Linked DNA regions of Homo sapiens: regions 1, 2 and 3 are each linked to region 4. Evidence: promoter capture Hi-C in human tissues and cell types (Jung and others, 2019). All regions are on one chromosome and are shown on one strand. The core of a region is centred on a gene start or on the middle of the fragment in contact, and the rest is flanking DNA. Distances in the headings are between cores, read along the strand shown.

Evidence for each region. The method cuts DNA at HindIII sites, captures the fragments that hold promoters and counts their contacts. A contact is called where the count stands out against the background at its distance.
Region 1: a fragment that was not itself captured here is called in contact with the fragment with the promoter of NAALADL1 in region 4 in 2 of the 25 tissues and cell types used here (bladder and spleen).
Region 2: a contact is called between a fragment that was not itself captured here and the fragment with the promoter of NAALADL1 in region 4, in 3 of the 25 tissues and cell types used here (adrenal gland, aorta and hippocampus).
Region 3: a fragment that was not itself captured here is called in contact with the fragment with the promoter of NAALADL1 in region 4 in 2 of the 25 tissues and cell types used here (mesenchymal stem cells and psoas muscle).

Annotation. Positions count from the first base shown.
Region 1 is chr11:64,950,504-64,954,923 of GRCh38, reverse strand. MAJIN (membrane anchored junction protein) reads left to right here. Exons shown (of 11, transcript NM_001037225.3): 4 at 122-167. Among named protein-coding and RNA genes, the nearest start is that of GPHA2, 17 kb to the right of the region's middle. The HindIII fragment of the contact is 9,200 bases long and covers 1-4,420 here.
Region 2 is chr11:65,140,704-65,145,088 of GRCh38, reverse strand. It overlaps the pseudogene HIGD1AP10. Among named protein-coding and RNA genes, the nearest start is that of SYVN1, 8.4 kb to the right of the region's middle. The HindIII fragment of the contact is 4,285 bases long and covers 1-4,195 here.
Region 3 is chr11:64,929,636-64,934,129 of GRCh38, reverse strand. It overlaps PPP2R5B (protein phosphatase 2 regulatory subunit B'beta), which reads right to left. Exons shown (of 14, transcript NM_006244.4): 7 at 3,749-3,808; 8 at 3,541-3,649; 9 at 2,641-2,694; 10 at 2,521-2,571; 11 at 2,262-2,381; 12 at 1,238-1,365; 13 at 884-985; 14 at 1-433. The coding sequence ends at 286. Among named protein-coding and RNA genes, the nearest start is that of GPHA2, 4.0 kb to the left of the region's middle. The HindIII fragment of the contact is 3,170 bases long and covers 1,050-4,219 here.
Region 4 is chr11:65,056,040-65,060,489 of GRCh38, reverse strand. It overlaps NAALADL1 (N-acetylated alpha-linked acidic dipeptidase like 1), which reads left to right and starts at 1,937. Exons shown (of 18, transcript NM_005468.3): 1 at 1,937-2,153; 2 at 2,240-2,412; 3 at 2,494-2,615; 4 at 2,997-3,119. The coding sequence starts at 1,969. The HindIII fragment of the contact is 22,908 bases long and covers 1-4,450 here.

The sequences.
Region 1 (4,420 bases), core at 107-2,606, 100 kb after region 4:
CAGTTTTACTTATGTCATGTTTCTTTAGCTCAGTGGAAGTGTTATTTTTGCCCTAGTAGAGTCTACTCTCTCCAGAGCTTTCCTTCATGTCTTACTTGTCTCTTGTCTGTTTACCTTCTAGAGGAGAAGAGATAGAAAATAAGGAAGTCATCACCCAGGAGCTGGAGGTAGGGAAAGAAGCATACGACTTCTGGAAAAGTTACTCTTTAAGGATGCATCCACATTCAGGTTTTAATTATTTCCTACAAACTGAGTCACAACCTCCACTTGATAACTTGGCTTCCTCCTGCTACATCTCCTTTGCAAAGGAACTTTATGTTTTTCCATGGGAATTTAAAGCCTGTATTCTTTCTCAGTTTTCCTAGTTGAAATGTCAGCACCTTTGAGGCTGAGAGCTTTTTGTTTTCACCAGTTTCCAGCCTTGGGCAGCTCTCTTTTGTTGCAGCTGGCATAGAGAAAGATTCCGGAGGACTGCCTCCTTCCAGGGCTCTGGGAAACCTCACCATCCCAACCACTGCCTGGTACTTGACGTTCAGGAAACTCGACTGTAAATACACAGACAAGGCTGCTGTGTCTTCATTTAAATTGGCAACATTTGCAATTGCCTTATTCCGACTTCATTTTCATTCCTTTCTACCCGGTTCCTCTAGCTTTAGGTTTTCCTACAGAAGAAGACTGAGCAGGTGATCAACTTTACAAATTGGTGGAAGCAATGGACAAGGAGTTAGAGTTCTGGGGGTTGGCCCTGGATTCCAGTCCTGGCATAGCCACCACTTAGCTGTGTGACCGTTGGCAAATCATATATCAACTTGGATCTTAATTGCCTCATTTGGAAAATGAGAGGTCTAAACTAGCTTTTCCTCTTCTGACTTCACAATTCGGTAATTTGTGACTATTGTGATTTCTTAAGACATATGCCTCCACATTTCAAAGCAATTAAATACACTTAAACACAAAACTCTGTGAAACCAAAACTGAGTCATACCCTTAAGAAGGTACCTCTTTGGCTAAGTGTTAAAAGATACATTAGGATCTTGCAGGACCCTCAAGGATATCATTATGAATAAGTTATTTTAACATAGGACCAAGAAAATGTTCTACCTGGTTTTTTGTTTGTTTGTTTGTTTGTTTTTTGAGATGGAGTTTCGCTCTGTCACCAGGCTGGAGTGCAGTGGCACGATTTTGGCTCACTGCAACCTCCATCTCCCAAGTTCCAGCGATTCTCCTGCCTCAGCCTCCCAAGCAGCTGGGACTACCGATGTGCACCACCACGCCCAGCTAATTTTTGTATTTTTAGTAGAGACGGGGTTTCATCATGTTGGCCAGGATGGTCTCGATCTCTTGACCTCGTGATCCACCAGCCTCGGCCTCCCAAAGTGTTGGGATTACAGGTGTGAGCCACTGCACCCGGCCATTCTACCTATTTTAATTATGAGCAGAGCAGGCTTTATTTCACTTTGCTTCAGTTAACCTGAGCAGTGAAAAGCTCACGGAAGCATAACAGAGAGGAGGGAACACAGACTTTAGAGCCAGTCAAACCTGGATTTGAAGTCTCCATACTAGGATAGTGTCTAGCTTCTAATTATAATAGCTAATATTTATTGAGTAATTACTATGAGAAGTGTTCTGCCATTCACAGTTTGACTTCGGGCAAAGTACCTACCCTCCCTGAGTCTGTTTCCTTACCTGTCAAATGAGGTTAATAAAGAAGGCCTGTTTCAAGACTGAGGATTAGAAATAGATGTCTGCAATGCCTGCCACACAGTAGCTCAATAATTAGTAGCTCGAGAGTATTTACATTCAACGTATGTCATATTTCCAAGGTGCATTTGATATGCATATGCATCTTTCTCTTATGCTCACTAGTTTGGGGTCAGATGTTATCATTCTCTTTTCTTCATTTAGAAAACACTTACTGAGGCTGGGCGCTGTGGCTCACACCTTTAATCCCAGCACTTTGGGAGGCCGAGGCAGGTGGATCACCTGAGGTCAGGAGTTTAAGACCAGACTGGCCAACATGGCGAAACCCCGTCTCTACTAAAAATACAAAAATTAGCTGGGTGTGGTGGCACGTACCTGTAGTCCAAGCTACTCAGGAGGCTGAGGCAGGAGAATTGCTTGAACCTGGGAGGCGGAGGTTGCAGTGAGCCGAGATCGCACCACTGCACTCCAGCCTGGGCAACAGAGTGAGACTCCATCTCAAAAACAAAAAAAGAAAACATTTACTGAGAAGCAGGCTAGCCTAGGGGTTAAGACTAGGAGCTCTGGAACCCTGCTGCCTTGGTTCAGATCTTGGCCCTGCTATTTCTAGTTATGTAACCTAGACTACATTTTTTCACCTCTCTTTGTCTGTTTCCCCGTCTGTAAAATGGGAATAACAGAATTGCCTCACAGGGTTTTTGTGAGAGTTAAATTAATTAATATGTATAAAAACACAGCCGGGCTCTGTGGCTCACGCCTGTAATCCCAGCACTTTGGGAGGTCAAGGCGGGTGGATCACCTGAGGTCAGGAGTTTGTGACCAGCCTGGCCAACATAGTGAAACCCCATCTCTACCAAAAATACAAAAGTTAGCCAGGTGTGGTGGCAGGCACCTGTAATCCCAGCTACTTGGGAGGCTGAGGCAGGAGAATCGCTTGAACCCTGGAGGCAGAGGTTGCAGTGAGCGGAGACCAAGCCATTGCACTCCAGACTCCAGCCTGGGCAAGAAGAACAAAACTTCATCTCAAAAAAAAAGGCCGGGCGTGGTCGCTCATGCCTGTAATCCTAGCACTTTGGGAGGCCAAGGTGGGCAGATTGCCTGAGCTCAGGGATTTGAGACCTGCCTGGACAACATGGCGAAACCCCATCTCTACTAAAAATACAAAAAATTAGCTGGGCGTGGTGGTGTGTGCCTATAATCCTAGCTACTTGGGAGGTTGAGGCACAGCACTGCTTGAACCCAGGAGGTGGAGGTTGCAGTGAGCCAAGATTGTGCGGCTGCACTCCAGCCTGGGTGACACAACGAGATTCTGTCTCAAAAAAACAAAAAACAGTAACACTTCCCATAGTAATTACTCAATAAATATTAGCCAGTATAATTATAAGCTAGACACTGTGCTACTATGGAGAATACAAAGATAAACAAGACACAATATCTTTTTTTTTTTTTTTTTTTTTTGAGACAAGGTTTTGCTCTGTTGCCTAGGCTACAGGGCAGTGATGCAATCATAGCTCACTGCAGCCTCGACCTCCCAGGTTCAGGTGACCCTCCCACCTCAGCCTCACAAGTAGCTGGGACTACTGGCGTGTGCCACCACACCCAACTCATTTTTGTATTTTTTGTAGAGATGGAGTATTGCCATGTTGCCCAGGCCAGTCTTGAACTCCCGGGCTCAAGCAGTCCACCTGCCTTGGCCTCGCAGAGTGCTGGGATGACAGGCATGAGCCACTGCGCTGGCCACAGTTTCTATCTTCTTTGAACACAAACATGAGAACACTGAAGCTTAGGGTGAAATGACAAGGCTGGGATTGAAATTGAGACTTTTTTCCCCACAGAAATTTAGTAGTCTTTATGATGCCAAATTAATTAGTATAGACTAATAAGCATATAGCTTAATTAGGGACTAATCGATTAAAATTTAAAGTGAGTGAAAAAAAGGTTTGACTTAAACAAAAGCAAAATACTGTATATCAGTTAATACCAGTATTATTCATTCATTCAATGTACATTTAGTGAGGACTTGTTATGCATTATTCATGATGGTAGACACCATAGAAGGGATACTAAGATAAGTCAGGTGTATATTCTACTTCAAGTAGATCTCCCAGTAAGGAATATAAAACATTTGTATGTGGAATGTAGTAAAGACTCCAGGCTAACTACTGTGAAGTTTGATACTAACAATTATAACTTGGTAAATCAGGGAAAGATTTCTGGAGGAGATGCCTTTTGAACTATGCCTGAAAGGATAGGTCGGATTTGGACAAGTGCTGATGGGTGGAAAGGGCATTTCAGGAAGAGAAATTCCCTTTCTATGCAAAAGCATAGAAATGGAGAAGCGGGCTGGGTGCAGTGGCTCATGCCTGTAATCCCAGCACTTTGGGAGACCGAGGAGGGCAGAGCACTTGAGCCCAGGAGTTCAAGACCATCCTGGGCAACATGGTGAAACCACATCTCTACAAAAAATAAAAAAATTAGATGGGTGTGGTGGTGCACGCCTGTAGTCCCAGTTACTGGGGAGGCTGAGGTGGGAAGATCACTTGAGCCCAGGAGGCAGAGATTGCAGTGAGCAGAGATCATGCAACTGCCCTTCAGCCTGGGCCACAAAGCACGACTCTCTCAAAAAAAGAAAGAAAGAAAGAAAAAGAAATGGAGAATCAGAACACGTGTTAAAGGAACAGCAAATAGTTCAGTTTTGATAGTGTATAGGGTATGTGAG
Region 2 (4,385 bases), core at 804-3,303, 84 kb before region 4:
CTTATGGATTCTAGTTTAGTTATTTTGTAATTGCAGAATTATATTTTTGCTGCTGTTATATCTGAATAATTTTTAAATGTCATCTTGAGATAGAAATATGTATTTAAGCACTCATGCAAAGGTAAATGAGCACCTTTTATTTTATTTTTTTTGAGACGGAGTCACGCTCTGTCACCAGGCTGGAGTGCAGTGGTGTGATCTCAGCTCACTGCAACCTCCATCTCCCGGGTTCAAGCACTTCTCCTGTCTCAGCCTCCTGAGTAGCTGGGACTACAGGTGCACACCACCATCCTTGGCTAATTTTTATATTTTTAATAAAGACAGGGTTTCGCCATGTTGTCCAGGATGGTCTCGATCTTGACCTCGTGATCCGCTGGGCCTCAGCCACTCAAAGTGCTGGGATTACGGGCATGAGCTACCGTGCCCAGCCCAATGAGCACTTTTTAAATGTGTGCATTGCTTATTTTTTCCATAAGAATTACAAACATTAAACTAATCAAATTACCTATAATGGAATTGATTAATGACTTATGAGCAAGCTGGTTTGGCCAGACAGTATACCCAAACTTTTATAAACTATAGAATGTTATTACATTTGTGAAATTTTCTTGTCTAACCTGAATTTACATTTCATGGTGATAACATGGTATATGTACTGTTGTTAAAGTAAGTGACCATCTCAAAAAAAAAAAAAAAAAAGAACGTCAACATCAATTCTGACAGGACAGGAATTTGGACAATGTAGCTTTTACTCATTCATTCTTCCACTAATGCATTCATTCAGCAGACAGTCAAATAACCTGCAATTAGCTTGTGGATCTCTCTACCATGAGACTGAAAGCTCCATGAGGTCAGGGAATGTATTTTGTTCTCCACAATGTCCTCAGAACCTGGCCTGGGGCCTGAACACAGTAGGCCCTCAGTAAATGTTTGTTAATTAAAGGAATGAGATCAGAGGCAAGGGAAGTCCAAAGGCAGTCTAGATAGACCAACAAACTGACCTCATGTGTGGTCAGTCCCACATTCAATGCACACTTCTTGGTGAGGGGGTCATTCAGGGAAAGTTGGAGGGTCTGGCCTTCCAGGCTGGGAGTACCTGGAGTGTTCCACCATGGAAGAGAGAGAATAGTTCCTCATTTTCTCTTTCATGGAGGGAGAATGTGAGAATCCAGATGTTGTTGTCAAAAATGTTGAAAAACTTTTAAGCCGAACGCAGCAGCTCATGACTGTAATCTCAACACTTTGCAAGGCCAAGGCAGGTGGATCGCGTGAGCCAAGGAGTTTGAGACCAGCCAGGGTAACATGGCAAAACCCCATATCTACAAAAAATACAAAAATTAGCCAGGCACAGTGGCGCATGCCTGTAGTCCCAGCTACTCTGCAGGGCTGAGGTGGGAAGATCACTTGAACCCAGGAGTTTGAGGCTGCAGCGAGCCCTGATCATGCCACTGCATTCCAGCAGCTTGGGTGATAGAGCAAGACACTGTCTCAAAAAAAAAAAAAAAAAAAAGCCTGGGCATGGTGGCTCACACCTGTAATCCCAGCACTTTGGGAGGCCGAGGCGGGTGGATCACGAGGTCAAGAGATGGAGACCATCCTGGCCAACATGGTGACCATCCTGGCCAACATGGTGAAACCCTGTCTCTACTAAAAATACAAAAAATTAGCTGTGTGTGGTGGCAGGCGCCTGTAGTCCCAGCTACTTGGGAGGCTGAGGCAGGAGAATCGCTTGAACCCAGGAGGTGGAGGTTACAGTGAGCCGAGGTCACGCCACTGTACTCCAGCCTGGGCGGCAGAGCAAGACTCCATCTCAAAAATAAAATAAAATTTTAAAATACTTATCAATTCATGTTTTCTGTTGTGTCTTAGGTCAGTTTTAGTGCATCTTTTATTTTCTAGGAAATTGTCTATTTCTCCTAAATTTTCAAATTTATTGCCATAAAATTGCACCTACTGCATGCTCATTATTTTTAAATTTCTGCTGTGTCTGTTTATTGCTGTTTTCATTCATTATATTGTCTGCTTGTGCAAACCTTATTTTCTTGACCAGTCTCTCTGGAGATTTGTCATTCTTATTAGTTTATTCAAAGAGCCAGCTTTCAACTTTGTGTATTCTATTTTAGCTTTATCTATTTTCTTTTTTCTTTTCTTTTTTTTTTTTTTAGACAGAGTCTCGCATTGTTGCCCAGGCTGGAGTACAATGGCGCGATCTCAGGTCACTGCAACCTCTGCCTCCCAGATTCAAGTGATTCTCCTGCCTCAGCCTTCCAAGTAGATGGGATTACAGGTGCCCCCCCACCACGCCCAGCTAATTTTTTGTATTTTTAGTAGAGACAGGGTTTCACCATGTTGGCCAGGCTCTTCTCAAACTCCTGATCTCATGATTCGCCTGCCTCAGGCTCCTAAAGTGCTGGGATTACAGGCGTGAGCCATTGCGCCTGTCCTCTATTTTCTTAATTTCTATTTTGTCTTTGTTACTTCCTTACCTATTTTATTGATGTAATTAACATACCACAATTCATTATTTTAAAGTGTACAATTCAGCCAGGTGTGGTGGCTCACATTTGAATCCCAGCATTTTGGGAGGTTGAGGCGGAAGGATCACTTGAGGTCAGGAGTTCAAAACCAGCCTGGGCAACAGAGTGAGACTCTGTCTCTACTAAAAATAAAAAAGTTAGCCAGGCATGATGGCATTTGCCTGTAATGTCAGCCACTTGGGAGGCTGAGGTGGCAGGATCACTTGACCCCAGGAGTTCCAGGCTGCAGTGAGCCATGATCGCGCCACTGCACTACAGCTTTCGCAACAGAGCGAGACTGTGTCTCAAAATAAATAAAGTGTACAATTCGGTCATTTTTAGTATACTCACAAAATTGTGCAAGCATAGCCACTATCTCCTCAGGAACATTTTTATCACTCCTCAAATAATAAACCCCATACCAATTAGCAGTCAGGCCCCATTCCTCACGCCACCAGCCCTTGGCAACCACTAACTACTTCTGTCTGTATGGACTTGTCTATTCTGGACATGTAACGTAAGTGCAGTGATATGAATGCTTTTTTCACTGAGCACAGGGTTTTCAAGGTTCATCAATGTTGTAGCATGAAGCAGTACTTCCTTCCTGTTTATGGCTAAATAATACTCCATTGTGTGGGTACATTACATTTTGTTTAGCCATTCATGGACATTTGGGTTGTTTGTACTTTTTGGCTATTATGAATAATGCTGCTACGAATGTTCTTGTACAAGTGTTTGTATGACCAGATGCTTTCAGTTCTCTTGAACATATACCTAGAAGTAGAATTTCTGGGTCATATGGTAATTTTATGTTTAATTTACTGAAGAACTGCCAAACTGTTTTCCAAAGCATTTACACTATTTTACATTCCCACCAGAAACACATAAGGGTGCCAATTTCTCCACATCTTGCCAACACTTGTTATTGTTGGTCTTTTTTTTATCACAATGATTTTAGTGGGTATGAAATCATCTCTCTATGGTTTTGATTTACATCTCCATAATGACCAGTGATGTTTAACATATTTTTTTGTGCTTATTAACCATTTTCTTTTCTTTTTCTTTCTTTTAGAGATAGGGTCTCTCTCTGTCACTCTGGCTGGAGTGCAGTGGCATGATCTTAGGATCATAGCTCACTGCAGCCTTGAACTCCTGGGCTTGAGCAATCCTCCCACCACAGCCTCTTGAGTAGCTGAGACTACAGCCACCACACCTGGATAATTTATTTTTTGTAGGAGGGGGGTCTCACTATGTTGCCAAGGCTGAGAGGATTGCTTGAGCTCAGGAGTTGGAGACCAGCCTGCGCAACATGGCAAGACTCTGACTCTACAAAAAATACAGTAAACAAACGAACAAATAAAAATTTAAAAGACAGACCTAACCATTCTCTCCCTAATGGATATGTGGTTCTATTGTCTTGTTTCACTATTTCAAACAATGCTGTGGCAATCATCCTTGGACTTAAAATCTTTGGGGTCATGTACAAGCTCTTCAACAAGATAGATTCCTGAAAGGGGAAAATCCAGGTCAAAATGTAAGTTTGCTTTCAACAACTTTTATGTCAACTTAACTGAGATATAATTGTATGTTAATACAATAAGATTTGCCAGTTTTAACATACAATAAGATTAGTCACTTACACAATTTGGTGTGCTTTAACAAACATGTATAAGTCAGGTAATTACCACCACTACCATGATATAGAGAATGTTTCCACTATCCAAAAAGTTTGCTTGTGCCATAGAGCAATCTGTCCTCTCCCCTAGCCTCTGTCCCTGGCAACTACTTGAGATGCTCTCTGTCACTAGTTCTATGAACATATATTTGCATTTATCTTGGGTAACTTAAGAACGGAATTGCTGGGTCATA
Region 3 (4,494 bases), core at 1,385-3,884, 130 kb after region 4:
CAGCTGGAGCCTAGCTTTGCGGGGCAGGGGAAGATCCCTGATGGCAGCTTCCTGGTCAAGCTTGCCCTTGTCAAGTCCTGCCACGAGGGGCTGAGCATTCTGTTGCCAAGACCACCATTGCCTCTCCTCGTCTCCCCCCAGTGAAAGCTGGGCTGGGCAGGGAGTCCTCAGAAGCCACTCTGGCAAGGCCAGGGGTAGGTGTGTTTCTCTCTGGGCCCCTGGACAGGAGAAGGGATAGAGGGACTGACAGCTCTGGGTTTAGCTTTTCCCCTTCTGAGGTGCTGTCTAGCTCTGACCCCCACTGGCGGCCACCTGGGGTGTAAGCCGCTGGAGGGGGGCCTCCTTGGCCCCCTGGGTCCCCTGTAGCCGGCGTAGCCGCAGCTCCTCCAGACCTTGCCATAACTCCTGACGCTCCTGGGCCTTCTGCTGCTCCCTGGGGAGAGAGGGTGAGGCAGCTCCCTTTCCTGGGGCCCCCCACAGTCCAGACTCCCTCACAGTCCAGACTCCCTCACTACCACCCCACCGGCAAAGGGAAGGCATGGAACCATTTTTGTTCTGTGACTCCATAAAAACCCTCTACTGAGGGAAGAGAGCAGAGGACAGACAGATCCCAGCCTGCAGTCACAGAGAAGATGACGGGTGGGGCCTGAGTGGTTCTGGCTTCTGTAGGAAGCTACAGGGAGTCAGAACAAGTCTGAGCTACTCGAAGAATGACGGGAGGATACAGGGGCAGACAGTCAGGCATAGGATGGCAGGAGCATGGACAGTCTTGCAGCATCTGATCAGACAGAGTTTGGGGTAGTCCTCGGGTTCCCTCCAGCCATGGGGGTCTGACTCCTCCCTGCTCTTCTCCCTTCCCCCACGCCCAGCCCCCAACACTCACTGCTGCTTTTCCAGCTTGTAGGAGGCTGTGAGCTCATCAAACAGCTTCCCATTCATCTCCATGAAGGTCTTGAGCACATTGTAGATCAGTGATACGATGGTTCTTGGCAGTGTCAAGGAGGGATGAGGAGATGAAACAGCTTTGGTTTGCCCACCTCTCCCTTTCCCTGCCCTTCACATACAGCATTCCACCTGAACACAAGCACTGCCCACTTTCCTGTCCTTTTCACCACCCCTGGGCCATCTTTTGATGCTTTCTCTGATATTCTCCAGCTAGGAGTAACCCTGGGGTCGGGTCTGGACTGGCTGGCCCTGGTCCCAGTTTCTGTGAGTTAGGTCATGGCCTGGCACTCACTGGTTCCAGTGCTCCTTGGAGACTTGGTAGAGGGTCCCAAACACAGCAGGCAGCACAGTGTGGCAGTTGTCCTCAATGAGGCTTAGGATATACTCATTGTTCCAGAAATACAGAGCCCGCTCTGCAACCTGGGGCAGACAAGATGGCAGAGTGATTAACTGGCAGTGGCTTCTCTCTGTGTGCAAGGTCTGGTGTCCATCACTACCTCAACGCCCAGGCCCCCTGACCTTCACACACCCCACCTTCAGGGCTTATCTGAGCCCTGGAGGAAGCAACAGTGTTGAAGGGAAAAGAGTTCTAGATACGGAATCCAATGCTGCGGGGTGAATCCTAACCACTACAGACTCTACTATGCCATGTGACCTTGGGAGAGGCATTTAACCTCCCAGCCTCAGTTTTCTCATCTGTAAAATGGGCTAATAATACCTATCTCAACAGGATGTTATAAGAATCAAATGAGATACTAGACTTTTAGGTGTTTAATGAACCGAAGTGCCAGAATCACTGTGAGGAAGACTTGACTTCCACTGGGTTATGGCCCATAAGAACGGGAGGAAGTCTGCACATGCTTGCAGCAGAACATGAGTTAGTTAGCTGGGTTGGTGCGGGGAAGCCTGGCTGCATCCCAAAGCGAGTCTAATGAAATCTAAGGCCACTAGCAAAAGGGGAAAAGTGATAACAGTCCTCCATCACATTCTGGATCACACTTCAGTTTACCAAACATGTTTACACTCACAATCTCTTCCATCCTTATCCCCACCCTGTGAAGAGGTTGTTGGCCCATTTTACAGCTGCGGAAGCTTAATCAGAATCAGAGTGGTGCAGTGATTTGCTCAAGGCCCCTCAGCCAGTGGAAGGCAGGTCCGAGGCTTCACCCTAGGTCTCCTGACCCTAAGTCCAGCATCTCCCCATTACCAGACCCGGGATTGGAGGAGAAACTGAGGGCAAAGGGAGCTTTATTAGGTCAGCTACCCAACCTTTCCAGGCCAGCCCTGCTCCCATCCCCGCCTGTCCTGCCTCATACCTGGAAATGGGGGCTGGAAACACAGCGAGCCACCTGCTTAAAAAGGGGCTCCTGGATCTTCACAAACTGGGAGGGCTCGATGACATCAAGAATCTCTTCCATCTCCCCCAGAAACATCACCTGGGTGGGTTGGGGAGGGGAGTAGGGACAGAGGGGCAGCAGCTCACATCTCCCCCTACACATACACACACCTGACTGCCTTCTAGAGGCCGAGCCCTCCCAGCCTCCCTCTGGCGGGCATCAAAGCCCTTCTTCATACCTCCTTCTGGGTGCAGGTTTTTGGCCAGTATTTGAGCAGCCCCCGGATCACCTGTGGGAGATGAGACAGGAGTCACGCCTGCAGAGGTGAGAGGCTGCCTTAGCCCCCAGAGGTACTCACGTGCTCTGTCAGAGTGGCATCCTTCTCCAGGAACTGCACCACACAGTATGCCAGCTGCAGGGGGTGACAGGTGGAGGGAAGGAAGACAGGTCAGGAAGGCACCAGGCGCCAAGGACTTGCTGTCCAGGACAGAATGCCAAATACTGCTCACCCACGGCCTGTTACTTTCTTATTCACCAAGCATTTATCACCTGCCTAGGATGTACCAGGCATCACATTCAGTGTGCTGGGAATACAACTCTGATCTCGCGGGGAGTGGGGACAGTCAACAAACTCATCTTTATAAATTTTGCAAAAGGTTCCATAATATGGCTAGTGTGGTGGCTCACGCCTGTAATCCAAGCACTTTGGGAGGCCGAGGCAGCAGAATCACTTGAGCCTGGGAGTTTGAGACCAGCCTAGGTAACATAGCAAGACACTGTCTCTACAAAAAAAAAATTTTTTTTAATTAGCCAGGCATGTGGCACATACATCTGTGGTCCCAGCTACTCGGGAGGCTGAGAAGGGAGGACTGCTTGAGCCCAGCAGGTAGAGGCTTCAGTGAGCCATGTTCATACCACTGCTCTCCAGCTGAGGCAACAGAGTACGGTTTTGTCTCAAAAAAAAAAATTGTGTATCAAAATCTCCCATAATAGATTTGTGTATCCAAATATTTGGGAATATAGATGGAGAAGAATGTAATTCTGCCAAGGGAGGGTAGAGAAGAAAAGCCTGGCTTCACAGAGCTGATATCTGAGGTTAGCCTTAAAGCGCCAGTGGGAATTTTCTAAGGTAGATGGAACAGAATTATAAAGACAAAGAAGGTGAGATAGGATCCCTGGAGGATCTGACCTCCAGGACCCACTGGCTGCCCTGACTGTCTGGAGCTCCTGCTGCAGCAGGGACAGGCCTGGGCCTCACCTGGGCATGGAAGACAGACAGCGACTTGACAGAGTGCAGGGGGATCAGGACGCGAACCAGGAACTGCTTGTGCTCCGTCTTCAGGGGCAGCGCAAAGCCATTGATGATGCTGAGGAGGAGGCAGAAGAGAGGAAGAGGGCTCAGGTGACCTGGCCCCAGTCCCTCCTTCCAGAATCCTGAGCTCCAGCTGAGGCCCAGGGAGAATCACCTTCCTAGGATCTCCAGCAGCTCAGCCACACCATTGAAGTGCTCGAATTCATAGATGAACCTGCAAGAGAAGAACGCAGGTGGGCTCAAAGCAAGCAGGGTAGGCCCAGTGCCCCCTTAGGCATCCTGCCTGCCCACCCTCACCTGCACGGCACGCTCATCCAACTCTCCCCCAACCCAGAGGCTGCGCTCCCTTCCCAACATCCCAAACCAGGCCCCATTGAGATCCCCGCCCCCCCACACTGAAATGCCCTTCTCAGCCCAGCCACCTCTGCCACTGAGTCCCAAGCTCAAGGCTCTCTTGCCAGTCAACCAAGAGAATGACAAACACTTAGCACATCTACTCCGTACCATGTAAGTCTCAGAATTATCCAGGGAGATGGGGCTTAAGAAATCCATCACATGGATGAAGAAATCAAGACTCAGCGGTTAAATAAAACAACCCCAATGTTAATAGGCAGGGAATCTAATGAACTCCAAGGTGCAGGAGGACAGGGATCATGGCTCACCCATTTTGTAGCTAATAACAACTAATGTTTCAGAGTCCCGGCCTCAGTCCAGGAGCTATGCTGAGTGCTTTGCAGGCAAGGCCCCATGTCACCTCGATAATGGTCCCTGAGTTAGTACAAGCAGCATCCCCATTTTTATCTTATCTTTGAGATGGAATCTCGCTCTGTCGCCCAGGCAGGAGTGCAGTGGCGCAATCTTGGCTCACTGCAACCTCCACCTCCCAGGCTCAAGCGATTC
Region 4 (4,450 bases), core at 688-3,187:
AACTTATCAGCTGACCTTGGCATCCCACTCCCCACCTGGTGGTGACTGTCCTGTGTCCTCATAAGGAAGGTGTATGCTCCCTGCACCGATGGGCTTCTGATAAGATCCAAGGTCATATTCTGGGCGTCGATAATCACGTTGCCAAGAACTGTGGCTTCCTGGTGCACCTCCCTGAAGTCACTGATCACATGACATCCCTTCCCAGCCACCCCTAGTCCTCCCATGCTGAACCTCCTCACCAGCAGCACAAGAGATGGTGGTGCCAGCAAAATGGGGTTGTGAGCAGGAAGGAGGCTGCTCTGAGAGGGGTCTGTGAAATCACACACACACACATGCACGTGCACACACACACACACACACACACACGCTCTGCCCTGATCCAGCCCCCAAGCTCTGCAGGCATCTTTGAGCCCATCCATGGGCTGCAACCTGCGAGGCAGAGTCAAGGCAGGATAGGCCATGGGAGGGTGGGAGAAGTCCCAGCTCAAGTCCCTAGGGACCCCCCCAGCCCCTCCTGGCTCTCCGTGAGGTCTGGAAGAGGCTCAGTATGTGTATGGCATACTTGGGGTCTCACTTCCCTCTCAGCCCTTGCAAATGCTGGAACACCTTTTCAGCCTTGGAGGACCCCCTCAGATGTTCCCTCCTAGTCAGAACTCCTCACTCTTTCACTGGGAGCATGGTGATCCTCCCTCTACAGGGCACTTACCACATGGCTGAACCTAAAGCCTGTCTGCCTCGCCTGCTGGATTTTGCTTCCCCACAGCCTTGCATGGCTCTAGTATAGCACAGAATGAACAGTGCTTGCATGTATAAAGGAAGGAATGAATAAGTGAATGGAGGGATGGGTGGATGGATAAATAGGAGGGTGGATGACGGAGTCCAGGCAGAGCCAGGGGATAGAAGAGGAAGTCACCTCGCCAGGGAGGCATGGGCTTCCCCTGCTGCCTCCTCTGGGACAGCCTCCCTTCCCAGGACTCCCATTCCTCGTATCGCTGGGCTCCCTTCAGGATAGACACAGAGAGTTCTTCTGGGTCCTCCTTCTTCCTTTAGCTCTAGGCCTTACATTTTCCAGAGTCAGATGAGGGATGAGTAGTTAAAATTGATGAGCTCCCACTACATGTCAGACACTGCACTAGCTATTTCTACAGATGCCATATTGTTTAATGAAAATGACACCATAGCCGGCACGGTGGCTCACTCCTGTCATCCCAGCACTTTGGGAGGCTGAGGCGGGTGATCACCTGAGATCAGGAGTTTGAGACCAGCCTGGCCAACATGGTGAAACCCCATCTCTACTAAAAATACAAAAATTAGCTGGACATGGTGGTGCACACCCGTAATCCCAGCTACTCGGGAGGCCGATGCAGGAGAATCACTTGAGCCCGGGAGGTGGAGGTTGCAGTGAGCCGAGATCACACCACTGGACTCCAGCCTGGGTGTCAGTGGAAGACACAGTCTAGAAAAAAAAAAAAGAAAACAGGTGTAGAGAAGCTGAGTGGATTGCCCAAGGTCACACAGCTTACGTCCAGCAAGAAGGGGGATCTCAACTCAAAATCTGCTCAGGCAGGTAGGGCTGGGTATGCTGTAGATCGGCTGCCTTGGAGGGAGGCAGAGGCAGTGAGGGTGGGCAGTGGGCACGGCCCTGCTGTGAACACAGGAGCTCTGAGTTCCAGCCCTGGCTTGGCCTCTGTTTTCCTGGGACACCCTGGATGAGCCCCTTCCCTCTCGGCTTCAGTGTCCCTGGGTGACCTTGCTGCCCTTGGAGAGCCATTCCAGGCAAATGGTGCAGGATGTGGTGGATGTGGATGGCTCCTGGCTCTCACTGCGGGATGTTCCCTCACTCTCCCTGCCAGCTGGGGGTCAAAGGGCAGTGCCACCCATGGGGTAATGTTTAACCAGGCACAACACCCCCTCTATAGGGAATAACCTATAGACCAGTCCTACCCCAGCTGGCCAAGAGTCCGCAGGATGCAGTGGACGAAGGTGTTGGGGCTGGGGCTGGGGGCTGCTGCCCTCTTGGGGCTGGGGATCATCCTCGGCCACTTTGCCATCCCCAAAAAAGCCAACTCACTGGCCCCCCAGGACCTGGACCTGGAGATCCTGGAGACCGTCATGGGGCAGCTGGATGCCCACAGGATCCGGGAGAACCTCAGGTGAGAAGTGGGGCCATCTGCTCCTCCGTTTGCCAGAGGCCCCCTCCCTGATGCTGGCCCTGCCCCTCCCTCTGCCCACCCTGCAGAGAACTCTCCAGGGAGCCACACCTGGCCTCCAGCCCTCGGGATGAGGACCTGGTGCAGCTGCTGCTGCAGCGCTGGAAGGACCCAGAGTCAGGCCTGGACTCGGCCGAGGCCTCCACGTACGAAGTGCTGCTGTCCTTCCCTAGCCAGGAGCAGCCCAACGTCGTGGACATCGGTGAGGTCCTGCCCAGTCTTGGGAATGCCCGGGGGTGGGGAGCTGCTGGGCCCAGCCATGATACTGCCACCCCTCCAACAGTGGGCCCCACTGGGGGCATCATCCACTCCTGCCACCGGACTGAGGAGAACGTGACCGGGGAGCAAGGGGGGCCAGATGTGGTACAACCCTATGCTGCCTATGCTCCTTCTGGAACCCCACAGGTGGGCCCAGAACCCCCCCTACTGCTCTGGCCCAGCTCCCTTGGTTCCACCCAGGGTTCTCCCCACCCTGACCCAGGGAACGTGCCTCAACTGGGGCACAGCGCGCCCTCCGGAATTTACTCACCGGGACACTCCATCGCTGCTCCTTTCCTCCATCAGTCATTCAACAAACACTAGTGGCTCTGCTCAAGGCCAGGTCTGTTACAGGGCACCCAGACATGGAGGAAATGAGGGGTGACTGTTCTTGGGGAGCTTACAAGCTCTGGGTGAGGTGGGGGAACAGAATCTAAATTCTCCCTCCTGCCATGCAAACTTCCACCCCCCTTCCCCACCCACACTTCGCTGGGCCCAGCTCTAAGGATCACCCCCTCTTGGGACTAGGGCCTCCTCGTCTATGCCAACCGGGGCGCGGAAGAAGACTTTAAGGAGCTACAGACTCAGGGCATCAAACTTGAAGGCACCATTGCCCTGACTCGATATGGGGGTGTAGGGCGTGGGGCCAAGGTGAGTGGCAGTCCCCCAGTGCAGGAGGCCTCGGTGAGGAAGGGGCTGGGCAGTGGACTGGAGGAAGTGAGGGGAAGGGGAAGGAGAAGAGGCAGTGTTGAGTGGGGAACCAAGCCCCAGGGTGGGGCAGGAAAGGCAAGGTGTTTTCGGGTTGTCCCACCAATGGGCTGTGTGGCCTCGGATGCCTCCCTGACCCTCTCTGAGCTGTAGGAAATAAAGGGGTTGAGTACAATTTTCAGGTTTGGTATTCCAGAAGTCTAAGTCCTCCTGTGAAATAGTTTTGAATATTCAACTTAAGTCCCTCCTGTTGGCCCTCTCCCTGCCATTTCTTTTCCATCAAAAATTCTGACTAGGGGCCGGGCGCTGTGGCTCACGCCTATAATCCCAGCACTTTGGGAGGCCGAAGTGGGCAGATCACCTGAGGTCAGGAGATCAAGGCCAGCCTGGCCAACATGGTGAAACTCCATCTCTACTCAAAATACAAAATTAGCCACACATGGTGGTGCATGCCTGTAATCCCAGCTACTGGGGAGGCTCAGGCAGATGAACTGCTTGAACCTGGGAGGCAGAGATGGTAGTGAGCTGAGATTGCACCACTGCACTCTCCAGCCTGGGAGACATCGAGACTCTGATTTAAAAAAAAAAAAAAAAAAAAAAAGGCTGGGCATGGGCGTGGTGGCTCACGCTTGTAATCCTAGCACTTTGCGGGGCCAAGGCAGGCGGATTGCCTGAGTTCAGGAGTTCAAGACCAGCCTGGGCAACACGGTGAAACCCCATCTCTACTAAAATACAAAAAAACAAAAATTAGCTGGGTGTGGCAGCGTGCACCTGTAGTCCTAGCTACTCAGGAGGCTGAGGCAGGAGAATTGCTTGAACCCAGGAGGTGGAGGTTGCAGTGAGCCAAGATTGTGCCACTGCACTCCAGCCTGGGTGACAGAGCGAGACTCCATCTCTAAAAACAAAAAACAAACAAACAAACAAAATTAATATAAAAAGAGTAGAATGAGAGAGGGGAAGGGATAGTTGGTATTTAATGGGGACCGAGTTTCGGATTTGTCAGATGAAGAGTTCTAGAGATGAATGGTGGTGATGTTGCACAATATGGATGTACTGAATGCCACTGAACTGCATACTCCACATGCTAAGTTTATGTTATGTGTATTTTACCACAATTTTTTTAAAAGTGGGCTGGACGCGGTGGCTCATGCCTGTAATCCCAGCACTTTCGGAGGCCAAGGCAGGTGGATTACCTGAGGTCAGGAGTTCGAGACCAGCCTGGCCAACATGGTGAAACCCTGTCTCTACTAAAAATACAAAAAATAGCCGCTCAT